5 separate regions of the Homo sapiens genome follow, and regions 2, 3, 4 and 5 are each linked to region 1. The links are contacts of gene promoters, found by promoter capture Hi-C in blood cells and fetal thymus (Javierre and others, 2016). All regions are on one chromosome and are shown on one strand. Each heading gives the region's core, a stretch centred on a gene start or on the middle of the fragment in contact. The rest is flanking DNA. Distances are from core to core; before and after follow the strand shown.

Region 1 (3,223 bases), core at 129-2,628:
AGCTGGGATTACAGGTGTGCAACACCGTGCCTGGCTAATTTTTGTATTTTTGTAGAGCCAAGGTTTCACCATGTTGGTCCGGCTGGTCTCGAACTCCTGACCTCAAGTGATCTGTCCACCCCAGCATCCCAAAGTGCTGGGATTACAGGTGTGAGCCACCGTGCATGGCCAGATCTTATAATTCTTACATGAAAGAAATGTAATAGTGATTTCCTCTAATATGACAATAGTCCTAAACCTTTACATGACACTTTCAAGAACAAATTATTAGATGGTGTAGGTGGTCCTTGAATGAATGAACCATGAGATACCCTAGAGCAGGGGTGTCCAATCTTTTGGCTTCCCTGGGCCACATTGGAAGAAGAATTGTCTTGGGCCACACATAAAATACACTAACACCAGCAATTGTTGATGAGCTAAAAAAAAATTGCAAAAAAAAAAAAACTCATAATGTTTTAAGAGAGTTTATTAATTTGTGTTGGGCTGCATTCTAAACTGTCTTGGCTGCATGCAGCCTGCAGGTGTGGGCCAGGGGTTGGACAAGTTTGCCATAGAGCGTGGCTTGGTTGGATGAGGGTGCTAGAATTCAGAGGACGGTCACTGTGCAGTGAGAGTTGTCTTGGCTGTAGGACTGGAGTTGGTAAAATGAAAAAAAGAAAAAACTAGTTTTGCATGAAAGAATGTTTCCAGCATATGAATGTCCCACCACACTTTTAGTTAGTCTTGGCTGTACATGTTGCAATAAGTCAAGGAACCCTACAAAGTAGGATGGAAGGATTCAAACTGCGAATCGCTTGAACCCGGAAGGCGGAGTTGGAGTTTGCAGTGAGCCGAGGTTGAGCAACTGCACTCCAGCCTGGGCGACAGAGTGAGACTCCGTCTAAAAAAAAAAAAAAAAAAAAAGATTCAAACTGCTTTTGAAAAAAGTAAAAATGCAGGGTTATATTTTAGAAATAGTGCAGCCAATCATTAGTGGCTATTCCTAATATGTCAATTTCGGGTCTATAGAAGACCTACCTAGAGGCCAGCAACTATTAATTGATGCTTATAGCACCTAATGAAACTGCCCTTGCCTTTGAAGCCCCCATTTAGCTAAGGGGATGGGATGTGAATTTAGAATAGGACGTGAAAAGTGCAAAATGCTCCCGGACTCAGATCGGATAAACCTCTTCTAGGCTGTCTTTCTCTTCTGAAGCCACAGTTTTGATGCTTTCCCTAATTCAGAGCAGGCTTTCCCGGAGTCTCTGACTCAGAGCAGCCCGAGCCACCGTGAGGACCGCCCACCTGCAGGGGGCGCGCCGGGGGCTGCAGCGCGAGACCGCTCTGGCCCAGCGGGGACTCCGACTACCCCTGTCTGGCCCCTCCCCTCCGCCCGTCACCGCCTCCTTGAAGCTGCCGCTGTCGCTGCTGCTCGTTCGAGTCGCAGGTACTTGGCCCGGGGCCTGTGGGCAGCGCCTGGGCTAGAGCCACTTGATATCTCCTGCACCGTCCCTGTAGCACTGGAGGTCCAGTAGGCCTGGCCGGGGCCCTGAGGGGCGAGGGTGCCCGGGCTTCCCACACCTTCCGCGGCGACTGGAGGGAGCCGGGCCGAGGAAGCGACCGCGGGTCCGTGATGGCTTCTTCGCGGTCTGTGTGTTCACGAGGGCCGGGCAGAGGCCTGCGAGGGTTCTCGTTTGCGCTTGCGGGTTAGGGCTGTGGTCCGGGGAACCCCTGGGCAGCGCGGGCAGCCCTGGCTCGCGGTTAATCGGGGGGTGGAGCGCGGAAGCCACGCCGCAGGTCCAGCTGCTCGGCCGGGGCGAGACGGTGCTTTCGCGGCGTGTGCTTGCAGGAGCGCACAGTTCAGGCGCCGGGACAAGCTGTTGGGGTGTGAGTGAGCTCTCCAGAATGGCACATGGCTCCGGGGTGCCCGGGTTAAAAGGAAGGATTTGCACACCTTCCACTTAGGGCTCGGGTAATCGCAAACTTCCTCCCTTAATTGGCTTGCAGTGCTAAAAAGCAGATCGTTCTCTCTGAGGTTTTCCCAACAGTACCTCAAGAAAATAACATCTGTTTTTTGTAACGTTCCACGGTATTCGGAATTGGCTACAGAACATAATAAGGTAAAAATATGCCATTGAATAGTAGCGCTTCTCAATCTTTAAAAAATGACGGTGGTACCTAGGAGCCTCTTAAAGAGCTGTAATATGAGTGGTGTGGGGATTATTTTTATGTTCTAGTAATAGCTATTTTCAGTGCTTATTTTATGTCAGACACGGTGCCATTGCTTTAAATACCTGGTACCTTTAATCCTTGAAGCAACCCTATCAGGTACCATTTCCATTATACAGATAAGGAAACTGAGGCACCGAGAGTCTGACTTCTCCAAGGTCAGAAAGCTAGCAAAGGCTGAGCGAGATTTGGTCTCATCTCCCTTACTTCAGTATCCCTGCGTCTGTTATCTAGCCAAACATGTAGCGCTGTCTAAGAGTTTTATCAATTAGATTTGTAGCCTGAACTGATTTCTCTCAGGCTTAGTTTTCATGGTTATATGCAGGAGTCCTACATGAACTCCTTTTTAGTTTAAAAGGAGTTTAGTAAGAAAACTGTTAGCTCATTAAGGACTATAGTGATAATAAAGTTAAACTTGGACTGGGGTTCTCACTGTGCCAGTACAATTTGATTTGAAATAGAGATGAATTTGTTTGGTTGTTAACACACTTTATTACATTTCTTCATTATTTATGTTTCCATACCATTTTTTAGTGAGTTCACTTTGCCTTTGCATTATTATGGTAGCAGTACCAGAGGGAAATCAAAGATTTTTTGATGATAGTAAGTTAATATTTTACAGAATACAGGAAAGGCACTGGAGAGAGGATGTGAAGTGATAAGGAATTTTTGGCATGTTATATAAATTGTGTTACTATGGAAAACAAAGGATTCTCACAGTTCTTTATCAAAAGGGAAATTGTATTTCCCATTGTGGAAATAAGTTGGGCTTTATAGTCCCAAACTTCTTAGCCTTACCTATTATAGATTTAAGAATTTGCATATTCGGCATTCATATAGCAAGCGTATATTGAGTGCCTTCTATGGCCAGGCTCTGTTCTAAGCACTGGGGGATGTGAGAGTGAACAAAATGAAGTCCTTGTCTTCCAGGAGCTAACATGTCACTGGAGGAAGGTGGGGTTGGGGACGATAAGCGGGATTTGTGAAAGTTAACGTATCTGGAGTCAGATGGTAA
Region 2 (3,559 bases), core at 540-3,039, 2.3 Mb before region 1:
CCAGCCTCCAATGTCTTCTTGATGTCACCCTAATCTACCGTTTCAATCTCATTTGCAACCATGCCCCTATGCTGGAACCAGAAAGGCTATTCACAATTCTCTAAACCCACCCACTTCTGTGCCTTCTCTCATCCGTTTCCCTTGCCTGGAACACTGGAACATCTACTCTCAAAATCACCAAACAGGCGAGTTTGGTGAAAAAGGAAGCACCTTTGTCTAGAAAGGCTTTTCTCAAAATCACTCTTTACCTTTCCCCAGCAGCCTTTCTCTCACTTAGCTGCAATCATCTCTTCCCTCCACTTGGTCCTTGCAGCATTTTATTTGTATCAGCCAACAATTTATTTTGTATTGCTGTCTTATTTCCCCTGCTAGATTGTAAGCAAGGTTTCAAATATTGTATTCATCTCTAGTTTTTCTTCCTCCACCAGAGAGGGTCTAGTGAATGGCTGTGTTTTCAAATGTTCTGAATAGAACAGAACTTTGAAGAAATAAAAGACAGAGCCAAGATATAGCCGAGCAAAATAAGGAAAAACAAAATCAGGAATGCGTCCACAGCTCCTGATTCTACCGAATACTCTCTCATACAGCCTCGCAAGATACCCTGCTTTTCCACACAGGAAGGTCGCTTTCTTCCTTTCACATTTGATGATTTATTAATCAACCACAGTGCTGCTCAAAGTACACAGAGGGTTCGGAAGAATGAAAGGGAAAAAAGTCAGGGTCTTAATATCAAAGATCTTAACTTCAGAGGGGTGTGTCAACACATATTCCATTTGTGCTATGTGTTGCGAAGCGTAGCAGCACGAGAGAACTCGGGGTCTCTGATCATGATCATTAGTGCTGAGGCATCTAAAAAAGATGAAAATAAATTAAAAGCTATGTAGGTAATCTTAGAACCCCTAGTAAAAAAAAGTCTGTTGTGGAGTAGAAAAATTAAAACGACCGCGAAAATGAGACCTAGGGGATTGAAGTAATGTGCGCTTGTAACATCAGTAATCCCCTCTCCAACGCGGGTCCTGCTTGGGACTGACTCCACCAATCCTTTTAAAAATGAAGACATAAAAGCCATATTCCTTTAAAAAATTTCCACTGCACCGTATTGCAACGTTCGAGCACTGAGGACATTTTCACGTGGTCACAACCCTTTTTAACACCCGGACACTGGGCCGGTCCTTTCTGGCCACGAGGAACTCGCTTCCCTAAAGGAGTACCGCATCACCGAGGGCGGGCGCCTCAGCCCGGGAGGACACTCCCCAGGGTAAACTACAGGCCTCACAAAGCGGAGGGAGCTGGACGCGAAGGCTCGGCAGCGGCGCCGACAGGCTTACCCCAGGCCCACTCTAGGCCGCACAGGGTTCGCGCCACCTCCGGCCCAGGACAGCTCTCAGACGCTGCCAGCGTGGAGCTCGACCCGGCTCACAATGCGCTGGGCCCCGCAGCGTGAGCGCAGGCGCCCGAGAGGCGGCGGGGGTCGGGCGGACGGCGCGCTCCAGCCGAGCCGCCTCCCTCTCTCGGCCCACACCCGCGCGGCCGCCCTTCGCCTGCCGGGGAGCTGCGGGTGGCTGGAGGGCGGGAAGCGACCGGCCAGTCTGCACCTGCATGACCCGGTCGCGCGCCGACCCCTCCCCTCTCTCTCCCGGGCTCAGTCCTCCTTCCTCTTCCGTCCCCCTCCCTTTTCTCCGGGCTGCAACCGGGTTCCGCCCCGCTCGCGCGGCTGCCCGGCCAGCTGTGATGTCACCAGGCCACGCCCCCTAATATAAATACTGGCGTCGCTGGCGCCGCCTTCTCACACTTTCAGGCTCTGATCGCGGCCGCAGTTTTTCCTTTTTTCTTCTGCCGTCGCCTTCTCTGCCTCTTCTCATCCTTTCTCGCTCTGCTGCTCTGCAGTGTGACGAGTCCGAATCCTCTTCCCACCCAGCCCGCGCCTTTCTTCTTTTGCCTGCGCTGTTCTATTTCTCCTTCGGCCGCCGCCGCCACTGCTGCACACAGCTGGTGTCGGTGCCGCGCTTTTACCCCCAAGTCGTTCCCGCAGCCTATGGCCCAGGCCGCCTTGGGTATTTCTGCTCAAGGTAACCACATCCCTCTTTAAAAATTCCGCCGAAAAAGAGAAGACGCTTTACCCGACTCTTTGGGCCGTTATCTCACGTGAGTACCGAGCCGAGGAGCGCGGGAGGGGCCAGGACGCGGGGCTGGCCTTGGGGGGCGGCTGGGGGGCTCCGGCTGGGCCCCGCCGCCCTTAAGACGTCCCCGCAGCGCCCCGCGGCCGGCCGCCTCGAACATGGCGGCGGCGGCTGTCTGTGCCCCCGGCGGCGGCGGCGGCGGCGGGGCTGGGCGGCGGGCCGCGCCTCAGGACCTTCGGGCGGCTGCTGGACGCTTGGCGGAGCCGGAGCCGCAGCAGTTGGGGCGAGGGGGCGTGTGCCAGTGGGGGAGCGCGCGGGGGTCTCGCCGCCGGGGGTCGCCGTCCCCTCCTGGCGGCGTGCGGCCCCCACCCCTCTCCCGTGGTGCATTGCTGTTTCCGGGGAGGGGGCCCGGCCGCAGCCCTGAGGGGCCGGGGTCCCGCAGCCCCTACTCCGCGGTGCGCCGCCGCCACCTTTGCCTCCCGAAGCCCGGCGGGCGGGCGGCGCTGTGGGCTGCAACGGCTGGGGTCCTGGTTATGAATGGAGCGGGGCGGGCCCCGCGCCGGCCTCTGGTGACAGCTGCGGAGGAAGTCGGATTCCTGGGGGGCGCGGGGAGCGCGGTCCCCCTCTGGTGGAGGAAAGTTGACGCCACTTGGGGCCTGGCGGCGGGGAAGCCCCGGTGTCAGGTAGCCAGCGAGAGGCTTTTGGCCCCTTCTGGAAGCCTCGAGGCTGCTGCTCCGCCCCTGCGGCGCTCCTGATTGGGTCAAGTCGCCTTCACTCACCCCAGTCACCTCCTGGAGCCTGAGGATTAGTCACCATGGCTTCGTTTTTCCGTCCGCGCCATGGTTCCTAGGCAGAAAGAGGGAGATTGGTAGACGGGTGGCTTATCAACTACTGTCTTGACTGCCAACAGTTGGTGGTGGTAACATGTTCTAACCCTTACACGGTATCCTGAATGTGTGTTTCGTAGACAAAGCTGCTGGTTCAGAAACCCGAAACAGTCGGGGACACAGTTTACCGCCTCATGTTTCAGCACATTTAACTGAATTTTGTGGTGGCATCTTGGTTATATTAGTTCTGTGTCCCGTCGTGTTTCTATCGTGAATTCCCAGACTGGGTGGGAATCTAAGGACTCAAAGGAGGGGGAATTGCCTTGTGCTCAGCGAAGGTTGATGTAGAGGTGCATCAAAGCACAAAGTAGAAGTACATCAAAGCACATCAAATACAGCAAGGGTTGGCAGAAACATGGCTCATGATTGTCTAGAAAGGCCCTCATAATTCATTAATTTCTTTTACATATACGAGAGCGTGCAGATGCTGATCATGATTAGAAATAAGCCCCAAGGAGTTTAGGAAAGACTCCAAAAGAAAATGATTATCGGTGGTGATAAGTGAGGTCGAGTAGTCAGTGCCTTTCTCCCCCAAGGTTTTATCACATACGT
Region 3 (3,155 bases), core at 238-2,737, 2.4 Mb after region 1:
GATTCTAAAATGCAGCCAAAGGCCAGGCACAATGGCTCACACTTGAAACTCAGCACTTTGGGAGGCCGAGGTGGACAGATCACTTGAGGTCAGGAGTTCGAGACCGGCCTGACCAACGTAGTGAAACCCCGTCTCTACTAAAAAATACAAAAGTTAGCCGGGTATGGTGGCGTGTACCTGTAATCCCAGCTACTCGGGAGGCTGAGGCAGAAGAATCGCATGAACCCGGGAGGCAGAGGTTGCAGTGAGCCAAGATCGTGACACTGCACTCCAGACTGGGCAGACAGAGTAAGACTGTAGGAGAGAAGAGGAGAGAAGAAGAGAGGAGGGGAGAGGAGGGGAGAGGAGGGGAGAGGAGGGGAGAGGAGGGGAGAGGAGGGGAGAGGAGGGGAAAGGAGGGGAGAGGAGGGGAGGGGAGGGGAGGAGAGGGGAAGGGGAGGAAAGGAAAGGAGAGGGGAAGGGGAGGGGAAGGGAAGGGTGCCAAGACTGGAAGCTGCTGTTGCCAAAGAAAAGGCAGTGCCTGTATTCCTCTGTGTCCTCAGGAGGCCTATAATAACCAGAACCGCTGTGAAACTGGGGTTGATGCTTGAGTGGCCCACAGTTGCTACAGGCTATGTATTCTCTGCTAAACAGCTCAATCCTGGACCTATCTCTGTGCTCCCCAGGCCTCAGATCGGCTGGCTACGAGTAGGCCAGTTAAGACTATGAGGGAGTCCATATAGCTTGTCAACCGCCCCCCTCACCTCCCACTGGTTGGGAAGAAAGAACTCACGCAAGGCATGTGGCCGCCAAGACGGCAATGCTACACTTAGTACATGATGGGTGGTTACATACTAACTTCCCATTTAAAAAAAAAAAAAAAAAAAAGGAGTATTATCCTTAAAGCTCTTGCCAGTCAAGCACCAACAAAAAAACTGGTAACATGCACTCTGCTGCACTTGCATGGTATAGCTCTTTATATAAGCAACGGCTTATGTTATTAAAAGAAAACTACCCACATACATCTTAACGTCTAGGATACATAACAGAAGGTAACTAGTTATATTGCATGGTGAAAATCCAGGTGATTTAAATTTTGTTATTGTTGCTCATCTTCATTTTCTAATTGTTTTATGATGAATATGGATGACTGATATGAACAATATTACTAGAGCATAAACACCAAAAGGAATCCATTGTTTCTTACAGAACTCAAGTGCATAGCTGGTCTGTAAGTGTTCAGCTCACAACTCTGCCTTTTCTTTTCTTTTTTTTTTTTTGGAATGGAGTTTTGCTCTTGTTACCCAGGCTGGAGTGCAATGGTGCGATCTCGGCTCATTGCAACCTCCGCCTCCCGGGTTCAAGCAATTCTCCTGCCTCAGCCTCTCAAGCAGCTGGGATGGCAGGCATGCGCCACCATGCCTGGCTAATTTTGTATTTTTGGTAGAGACAGGGTTTCACCATGTTGGTCAGGATGCTTCAAGAACCCTAAAAGCATTGCTCCCTCAACAAGAGGACAAGGGCCACATTGCACTTATTTGGTAGCTATGTAGCTCTAGTACAGCATGGCAGGCACTTGGAAGGATCAAGATCAACACGCTAATCAATTCAACTGCCAGAAAGTAAGCCATTCCCCTATCAGTCTTTTTCATAAGGAACATGGATTCTTTACTGCCTCTGCAGAGTCTGTTAGTTTTTCAACGTATCTTCTGTGAAACTAGTGTTCTCTGGACAATAGGTATGCAAAAACCAAAAAAGGTACGTGTGTGGGAGTCTGAAAGACAGATTTCTTTCCTAAAGAGCTTTGCAGAGCTTTGACTCTGCAAGTATTCATTGTGAATCATAATAGGAGGATACCATATATAGCTTTTCCCATATTTATTTAGCCATAAAATACTTTTCTCCAGGAACAGCTGCAGGGACTAGTACTCCCAGGAATACATTTTGGGAAATGCTAATCTATCTTTCTGGTGCGCAGCTCTTTGACCTACCACCCACCAGGCAGAGTGGCTGCAAACGTGCCCTGTCCCCTATAATGAGGGCGGGGCAGCAGGCCCTAGGCAGGGCTGTACAGAATGAGGTTAGGTGACCACGCAGCACACTCAGACTTCTGTCATCGAGTGAGCTCAGCCACAAATGAGGTGACTGAGAGCCCAGAAAACAAATAAGGAATGGTCCAATAAATATAAATATTCACAACTGAACATCAGGTGACATTTTCATTTATTCTGTTTACAGATGCCACTTAGTTACACTGTTTTTTTTTTTTCAGTCTCATCTGGGTTGGATCCAAAGACATTCAGAGGCATGGTAAGAGGCAAAGCATCAGACATCTCATTGGTGGCAGGTACTTCCTGACTACTGTACCACCTGCTGTATCCTTCCCCACCTCATCACCCCCAAAGCCATTTAGTGCCAAATGCTACAGTAAAAACCCAATGCATTTACATAAAATAATGCCTAACTGCATATTTACATTTTTTAGAAAAAAAATCCCATTAAGCTCTTCTAGAAAGTTATGGCAGGAAAGGTAAGGACCAAGGCTATGAGCAAGCCATATGTGGAAACTTAAAGTAGATGAGCACTGAGTTTCTCCATAGTTGGAAAAAAGCCACACTGAGCCCACTCTTCCTGTGAGGCAAGATGAGACCTTCCTTTTATACCCTGTTGAGAATCTCAGGTGGACAACGTGACTGCATGAGTGTTGAAAGGCAGCTTGCCGGCTTAGTTATCACCTTGCAGAGGTAGCTATGCACTACACAGCCACACTGCCCAAAGCGCGCTACTAAGAACACTGGTCCTACAAAGGGCTCCTTGTAAGAGAACTTTAGGAATCACAAGTATTTAGAAAATACTATACACTATCATTTCCTTCCTAGAGATCCGCAATGCACATTATCACATGGAAGTTTCCAGAAGTTCTTTCATAAAGAAATGCTTAACTTTATTTAACCTAGAGTTTCCATATCAACCTGACCTTGGAATCTCTTACTTTTTTAGGTGACACATATCATAGAACATATTCTGAGAAATGCTCCTCTATGGCTTTGAGAAAATCTTTGCAGAAACAAAATAATAATAATTTTTTACTTAAAAAAATTAAGTAACTAGTAGGATCAAGTGTTGGTCAACAACAAAGAGATCAAAGAGTCAGGAAGTCCACGTCATAGACCCCC
Region 4 (3,310 bases), core at 290-2,789, 2.4 Mb after region 1:
TATTCTTGAAACACATAACAATTAGAAAATAGGATCTCATATAATAAAATACTAAATTATGCGGTACAGCACAATAGGAAACAGGACAAGGGAAAGAAAAAAAATGAGGCCGGGCATAATGGTTACACCTGTAATCCCTGCACTTTGGGAGGCTGAGGTGGGAGAATTGCTTGAGCCCAAGAGTTGGAGACCAGCCTGGCCAATATGAAGAAGCCCCGTCTCCACAGAAAATACAAAAATTAGCCGGGCGTGCTGGTGTGCACTTGTAATCCCAACTACTTGAGATGCTCAGGCTGGAGGATTGCTTCAGCCCAGGAGGTCAAGGTTTCAGTGAGCCAAGATCATGCCACTGTACTCCAGCCAGGGTGACAGAGTGAGATCCTGTCTTGAAAGAAAGAAAACAAAGAAAAAGAAAAGGAAAGGAAGGAAAGAAGAAAAAGAAAAAAATGTGAATTGGTAGGAAAAGTCAAAGAGAAAATAGAATTTCAGTTAGCTGGAATTTGCACAGATAAGGAAGAAAGAGTATTCAGGAATCCACAGTGTGAATACAGGAGGACTCTAGTGGGAAAAGGGAGTAGATGACAATGAAACTTGAATAGGCAAGGGGAGGCCAGACTGAAAGGTCTTTTATTCCAGGCCCCAAACCAATGAAAAAGATCAGAAGGTTCCTGAGCCGGAAGTAGGAAGGCCAAAACCTTAGCAGTATGTAGGACAAAATGAGAGGGAATAAAGCAGATTTTCTTGTATTATCTTTAGGAAGCAGGGAAGGCAGAGATTTTATTATTATTTTTTTTAACTGTTGCATTCCTCCTAGCATCTAGCAGAGTGCCTTACACAAAGTAGGGACTCATATATCTATGAGTGCCCGCATAAATGAAGAAACGAAGCGTACTTACAATGCAAATATTAACAGGATAAGAAATATTTAGCCAAGTACCACCCCTTCTGACACAGCAGAATACTTACAAGGGATCTGGGCCATTCCAGATCACCATCTTTCTTTCTGAAATGATATCCCAATCACTAGGGCTCTGTTCAGACAGTGACCTTGTAAAGCCCGAGGAGCACCCTAGAGAAGGGAACACAGGAGGAGCAGGAAAGGGAACACGGGAGGACCAACGCCCAGATCTCAGCGTGGTCGCCAGAATGACCCATATTAGTCATTTGGGGTTGCAGAAGAGGGGATGCAAGCCCATTCCCAGGACGGCCTCCACCCGGCGGGGCAATGAAGGGAAATGACTGACGTAGGGGGCTCCAGCGCAGGGGCCGAAGGAGATGCGACACCAGGGAGAGGGGCCCCGGGCACAGGCAGCAAGGAAAGAGGTCAGCGGAGTCTGAGAGAGAAACGATGAAGAGGGGAGACGGGCGCCGGGAGGGGGGCCGCCGCATACAGTTCCCCCGACACTCGCATCCTGGAAGGCACCAGCCCCTCACGACCAACCTGCCAGACGCTGTGAGGAATCCCCGGGTCAGAATGACAAGCCTCCGCGACAGTACCCACCGAGCCAAAGCTCCTGGAGAGCGCGCTGGAGAGCGCATGCGCCAGACCGGGCGCTTCCTCCACGTGGCCTGGAGCGTCGCCGAAACTACAGTTCCCAGAATGCCGCACGAGCCCGCCCCCAGCGGGAGCTGTGGGGCAGAGGCGCTGCTGTGGTTGGTCAGTCCAGTAAGAAGCCAGCAGGGCTGGTGCTGGGGCTTCTTCTCCTGAAGGGGCTGCAAGAGGGAAGGCTTAGCCATGTCGTCCTTGATCAGAAGGGTGATCAGCACCGCGAAAGCCCCAGGGGCCATTGGACCCTACAGGTAACGTGGCTGGTGGAAGCTGTGTCGGACCCAGGGCGTGCGGGTTCGGGGATTCGGGGTTGGGGCCACTCCGGGCCGGAGCCCCAGCTAACACGCAAGGAAATTGAGCCTGGAAAGTAAGCAACGCGCCCGAAGACCCACAGAGAGTTGGGAGCCACGATGGGACCAGGAACCTGCACTCCATGGGACTTTGCTCGTTCTGGGGCTGCCTCGCTGCGGAGCACAGCCTGCCAGAAAGCTCTCCCCAGTTAGAAGCCTTCAGACCCTGTGTTTTGTTTTGGGGGAGGGGGTCGTTTTTGTTTTCTTGGTAACAGCTTTATTGAGATATAATTCACGTACCGTAAGATTCACCCCCTTTAACATGTACAATTCAGTGGTTTTGACCATACTCACAGAGTTGTGCAGCCATCACCACTTTCTTCAGAACATTTTCATCACCCCAAAAATAAATCCCATCCCCATTAGCATTCACTCCCCATTCTCCTCTCCCCCGGCCCCTGACAATCTACTTGCATCTTCATGGATTTGCTTGTTGTGGACATTTCCTATAAATTGAATCATAAAACATGCAGTCCTTTATGACCAACTTCTTTCATTAGCTTCATACTTGGTCTGCCTCTCTCCCAACTGAAAAGAGCCCCATCAACAGCTCCCTCCTTTAAACCTACTGCTGTGAGAAAAGGCACTGAGATGTGGCAGAACAGGAATTATTATAGAAAACTTGGAAATAAATAAAATGCAGTAGAAGTGAGAGGGCAAGTGGGGTAGGGAGTAAAGGAGAAAAAAGACAAATTGATTTTAACTTGGGGTGGAAGAGGAAAAAGAAGATTTAGGAAGGTTCCTTGTGAGAGGTAGTCCTTTGGTTTTGAAGGTTGGTTTTGTCATTTATAGTAGTGTTGTAAAGTTTGATTTTTAAATTAATTTATTAAGGATTTCAACAGGAAGTCATTGAGTGAAGGGCATGGAGGTAGAAGTCAGGTAGAGGGAATGGCTTGAGTGAGGGCATGGAGGTAGAAGAATGCATGGTATAAAGATTTTGGGGAGAAAGTTTTCATAATTCAAGTGCTACTTCTGTCTTTTTTGTTTGTTTGTTTGCCAAATCTGTATATCACTTATAATTTACTTAACCTATTTCTTTGAGATGGCTCACTTCATTTTATTTAACAAGTTAATTGAAAAAGGAAACTTTACAACAGTACACTAAATAGAAAACAATTCAATAGAAAGTAATAGTAAAAAATAAACTCAATTAAAAAAAGGTATTATTAAATTTTAGCTAGATATTGCAGTTGGCTCAAAACCTGAGGCCTGCTCTCTCTTTGTTAAGAGTGATGTTTCTTTAGCCGGGTACTGTGGTTCACGCCTGTAATCCCAGCACTGTGGGAGGCCGAGGTAAGAGGATTGCTTGAGGTCAGGAGTTCAAGACCAGCCTGGGCAACATAGTGAGACCCCCATCTCTATTTAAAAAAAAAAAAAAGTTTAATTAAAAACTTTCAAGTGATGTTTTAAT
Region 5 (3,432 bases), core at 799-3,298, 2.1 Mb before region 1:
TGTTCCTCCTACCCCTTTTCTCTTTTCTTTCCTGTTTTGAATCACTCTCACAAGTCAAGACCGCTCCCTGCTTCTTAGCCCGCTGGGGAGCCAGGCCAGCAGGCCCCACATTCCTGAGGAAGGGACAGGGTTCTGGCCTGGAGGGTCTAGCAGAAGCCACCCCAGGGGAGGGCCCGACAGGAAGGAAGGTAGGCCTGCCGGAGGGGCATACAGGAGCTTCCTCTCCCGCCACAGTGTCCAGGGCCAACTGCTCCAGCCCTCAGGCTGGGTCAACAGGATGGGACAGCCCAGGCGGAAGGAAACCTGTGGGGAGGGACACCCCGCAGACAGAAGCAGGGACATGGGGTGGGGAGAGGCAGGAAGAGCTGCCGGGCTGCTGAGCTGGCGCCTCTCCAGCAGACTCAGGAGGGGCGGTGACAGGAGGCCATTCCCTCCTCATCCCCGCAGCCCTGGGCCTCTCTGGTCCTGGCCAACAGTATTACTATCATTATTATTGCTGTTGTTCGCTAGCCTGGGCCTTAGATACATTAGAAAAAAACCATCGGAAGATACGCATAGCATTGGCAGTTTCTAAAAGAATTAATTCCCTTCCTGTGTTCATTCTGTGATTACTGGGATAGAAATGCTATTTGCATTACCAGCCTTTCATTCAGTTACAGAGACGTGAGTGCTCGAAGGAGAGACAGTGATTTTTGCCTTAAATTCAGCCTGTCCAAATCGGATAAGATCTCCGATTTGCTTTAAGCCCCGTTATCACTGCCTTCCTCTCCAACAACAGCTGCTGTGATCACGCACAAACGGCCAAACGGGGGCAAATCCGTGCCAAAGCAGGGCCATGGGCTTTCCTGATCAGAAGGCCTAGCCCCAGCCCCCAGGCGCAGCACACGGGCGGCTTCCTTTCAGAAACCCAGCCTGCCTCCCACCAGCTGGAGTGGGTGGGTGGGGCGGTAGTGGTGCCAGTTTCAGGGAACGGCCGGCAAACCCACCTCCAGGCGTGCTCCAGCGGGAGCCTGGAGACCCTAGGAGAGCCCTCCCCACAAGCGGCTTCCAGGCAGGACGCTTCCAGAGGTCTTGGTCCAGGGGTGGGGGTGAGGTGGGGTCTACCTTTGAAACAGCTACAATTTAAACTTCAGCTACACCGAGCTCAAACTCGATTCCGCAGCCGAGTGTCGGCGCCAGAGAAGGATAAAAACTCGGGTCTACGGCTCCCCACCACGCCCCTGGTCCGGTCCTCTGGGCTTCCAGGAGTCCTCACGCCATCCTCTGGGTTGCCCAGGAGGAAGGATGGGCGGGGCGGGCAGGCGCTGCGGGCGCTGCAGATGGGGAGGGCGAGCCCGCGGCACGGCGTGAGCGGGGGAGAGGCGCGCGAGCAGGTGTCGGCTCCGTGACAGGGTCCCCCATCCCGCGCCCCAGTGCTCCCCGAGGCTTAGTGAGGCAAAACCCAGCAAATGCTTCAGAAATGCAGCTCAGTCGGTCACCGGGTTCTGCTTCCTCATCAGACGCGCAAGAGGATGGCGCTTCCAATGCAAATCTCTTGGCTCCGGCCCCTTGGCTGGCAGCCGCCGCGTCCCCCGCCTGCCTGGCGTCCCGCCCACTCCGTGGCGGGCTGAGACGAGGCCCGGCGCGGAGGGGACGGGGCGGAGCGGGCATCCCTCCCCACCCCCCACGTGGGGCTGGCCCTCCGCAGTGCCTGGGCGCGCTGCAGTCGCCGCGCCTCCCCGGCCGCGGCACCGCCTCTCTAGGCAGGGGCGGGGGACGAGGGGCAAGGAGTGGGCGAGGGGTGGGCGAGGGGCGGGGGGCGTCACTCAATCAGGTGGCCTCTGGAGTTCCCCGGGGCAGGGCAGAGGGAACACGCTGCCGGGGATTGTGTACACGCTCCACTGACACCAGCTTCACGCTGCCGGGCAGTCGCCGATCACGCGTGGCCCCGCGAGCCCATTGGCCGGCGCCTCACACACCTTTGCCGTTGATTGGCCGGCCTCAGGCTCCGCCCCCACCCCCGCCCGCGGCGCGGGGCAGGCTGAGCGGCTACCTGAATGGGGAGGGGGCAGACGGCGCTGAGCGCGGCGGCGGCGGGAGCGGCGTCGAGTGTCTCCGTGCGCCCGTCTGTGGCCAAGCAGCCAGCAGCCTAGCAGCCAGTCAGCTTGCCGCCGGCGGCCAAGCAGCCAACCATGCTCAACTTCGGTGCCTCTCTCCAGCAGACTGCGGTAAGTCATTTGGGGATGCCCCTGTGCTTCCTCGCCTGGTCTTGTCTGGGGGGCCAAAGGGGGCGCGAACCCCGAGCCCCGGACATCAGCCATGCCTGAGAATTGGGGCTGCAGCGGAGTCGTGGGGAAGGAAAGGGCTTCCTGCCTGCAGACTATGGGCATTAGTGAGGGCGTGTGTGTTCGGGAGGGGGTCGAACCAGGGGGCTGGGATCTTCAGACAGGGACAGGGGTCTTGCTCTAGATGTACTGAGGGGAAGGGACAACTCCGCATGGAGACCCGAGAGGGCTGGTGAGGAGGAGGATGACGAGCGGGGGAGGAGTGGGGAGGGGGCCGTTGCCCTGCAGCGAGGTTGGGGTACAGTGTGGAACGAGAGTCGCGGGAGGGACAAGGGGGCTACCCTCACCTGGTACCGAGGAGAGATGCCCGGTCTGGCTCAGGAACGCGAGCCAGGGGAGGAAGGGGCTGCTCGCAAGCACTCGGGAGGCGGGGTGTCCACAGGAGAGGCGAGTGGGCTACCCATCCTGGGGGTCTGAACCCACGCTTGGAAGACGGGGGCTGCTCAGCAGATAGCTCGGGGCTGGGGGAAGGGGCGCCTGTCGTCGGAGCGGGGGGATGACACGAGGGCCCGCCGACAGCCCTGGGGGACGAGTTGCTCCCCCAGACGTCTGGAGGGGGACTCTTACCCCAGGGGCAGGTGGCCGCCTTCTGACGACTCCTTGGAAGAGGCGGGGAGCCGCCTCTGGGGCAGGAGGGTGGGAAGCGGGACCCAGCAGCTGGGGCGGGAAGGTGGGCGGGGGGAGCTGGGCCGCGAGACGCGGGGGCCGCGCGTCTGGAGCCGGGGCCTGTGGGGGCTGCACGTCTGGGAACCCGTGGAGACGCGCGGCGGGAGGGGCCTGGAGCTGCCGGAAGCCACGGGGAGGGGGCGCCGCGTCTACAGGGAGAGACGGGGTGGTCTGAGGTCCCGTGGGCCGCGTGGGCGGGAAGTGCCGAGGGCTCGGCCGGGTTCCCGGGGGCTGCCGGCGGGAGGAGGGCGGCGGCCGGGTTTCCGCGGGGACCTGGCTCCTCCTCCCGCATCTGAGGCGGAGGCCGGGGGTGGGCCGGGAGCGGGTGCGCCCGGGGAGCTTCTCGTCCCCGAGTGACCCAGCCCCGGCCTCCGCCAGGGGCGGGAGCGAGGCCCGGCCCCGCTGTCGGTTCCTAAGGGAACGGCGGCTCGCGGGGAGCTGG

The links. The method cuts DNA at HindIII sites, captures the fragments that hold promoters and counts their contacts. A CHiCAGO score of 5 or more calls a contact.
Region 2: the fragment with the promoter of AZIN1 here is called in contact with the fragment with the promoter of ANKRD46 in region 1 in 1 of 17 cell types (naive CD4 T cells); the score reaches 6.6 in naive CD4 T cells.
Region 3: a fragment that was not itself captured here is called in contact with the fragment with the promoter of ANKRD46 in region 1 in 1 of 17 cell types (total B cells); the score reaches 5.2 in total B cells.
Region 4: a contact is called between the fragment with the promoter of POP1 here and the fragment with the promoter of ANKRD46 in region 1, in 2 of 17 cell types (monocytes and non-activated CD4 T cells). The highest score is 5.9, in monocytes.
Region 5: the fragment with the promoter of KLF10 here is called in contact with the fragment with the promoter of ANKRD46 in region 1 in 1 of 17 cell types (non-activated CD4 T cells); the score reaches 5.4 in non-activated CD4 T cells.

The regions. Positions count from the first base shown.
Region 1 is chr8:100,557,914-100,561,136 of GRCh38, reverse strand. It overlaps ANKRD46 (ankyrin repeat domain 46), which reads left to right and starts at 1,378. Exons shown (of 5, transcript NM_001270377.2): 1 at 1,378-1,426. RefSeq lists enhancers at 1,075-1,214, 1,182-1,476 and a silencer at 1,215-1,384. The HindIII fragment of the contact is 4,322 bases long and covers 1-3,223 here.
Region 2 is chr8:102,862,393-102,865,951 of GRCh38, reverse strand. AZIN1 (antizyme inhibitor 1) reads left to right here and starts at 1,789. Exons shown (of 12, transcript NM_148174.4): 1 at 1,789-2,145. MAILR (macrophage interferon regulatory lncRNA) reads right to left here and starts at 1,681. Exons shown (of 3, transcript NR_126339.1): 1 at 1,329-1,681. RefSeq lists enhancers at 711-1,443, 2,912-3,559 and silencers at 1,323-1,672, 2,333-2,562. The HindIII fragment of the contact is 10,250 bases long and covers 1-3,559 here.
Region 3 is chr8:98,158,866-98,162,020 of GRCh38, reverse strand. It overlaps POP1 (POP1 ribonuclease P/MRP subunit), which reads right to left. Exons shown (of 16, transcript NM_001145860.2): 16 at 2,186-3,155. Among named protein-coding and RNA genes, the nearest start is that of NIPAL2-AS1, 16 kb to the left of the region's middle. The HindIII fragment of the contact is 4,067 bases long and covers 1-3,155 here.
Region 4 is chr8:98,115,522-98,118,831 of GRCh38, reverse strand. POP1 (POP1 ribonuclease P/MRP subunit) reads right to left here and starts at 1,539. Exons shown (of 16, transcript NM_001145860.2): 1 at 1,442-1,539. It overlaps RIDA (reactive intermediate imine deaminase A), which reads left to right and starts at 1,661. Exons shown (of 6, transcript NM_005836.3): 1 at 1,661-1,800. The coding sequence starts at 1,736. RefSeq lists enhancers at 1,267-1,436, 1,507-1,556. The HindIII fragment of the contact is 6,678 bases long and covers 1-3,310 here.
Region 5 is chr8:102,654,341-102,657,772 of GRCh38, reverse strand. It overlaps KLF10 (KLF transcription factor 10), which reads left to right and starts at 2,048. Exons shown (of 4, transcript NM_005655.4): 1 at 2,048-2,207. The coding sequence starts at 2,172. It overlaps LOC101927245 (a long non-coding RNA gene), which reads right to left and starts at 1,525. Exons shown (of 5, transcript NR_160672.1): 1 at 987-1,525. RefSeq lists enhancers at 1-216, 217-817, 1,418-2,018, 3,312-3,432, silencers at 1,159-2,178, 3,079-3,432 and a promoter at 1,458-2,192. The HindIII fragment of the contact is 6,240 bases long and covers 1-3,432 here.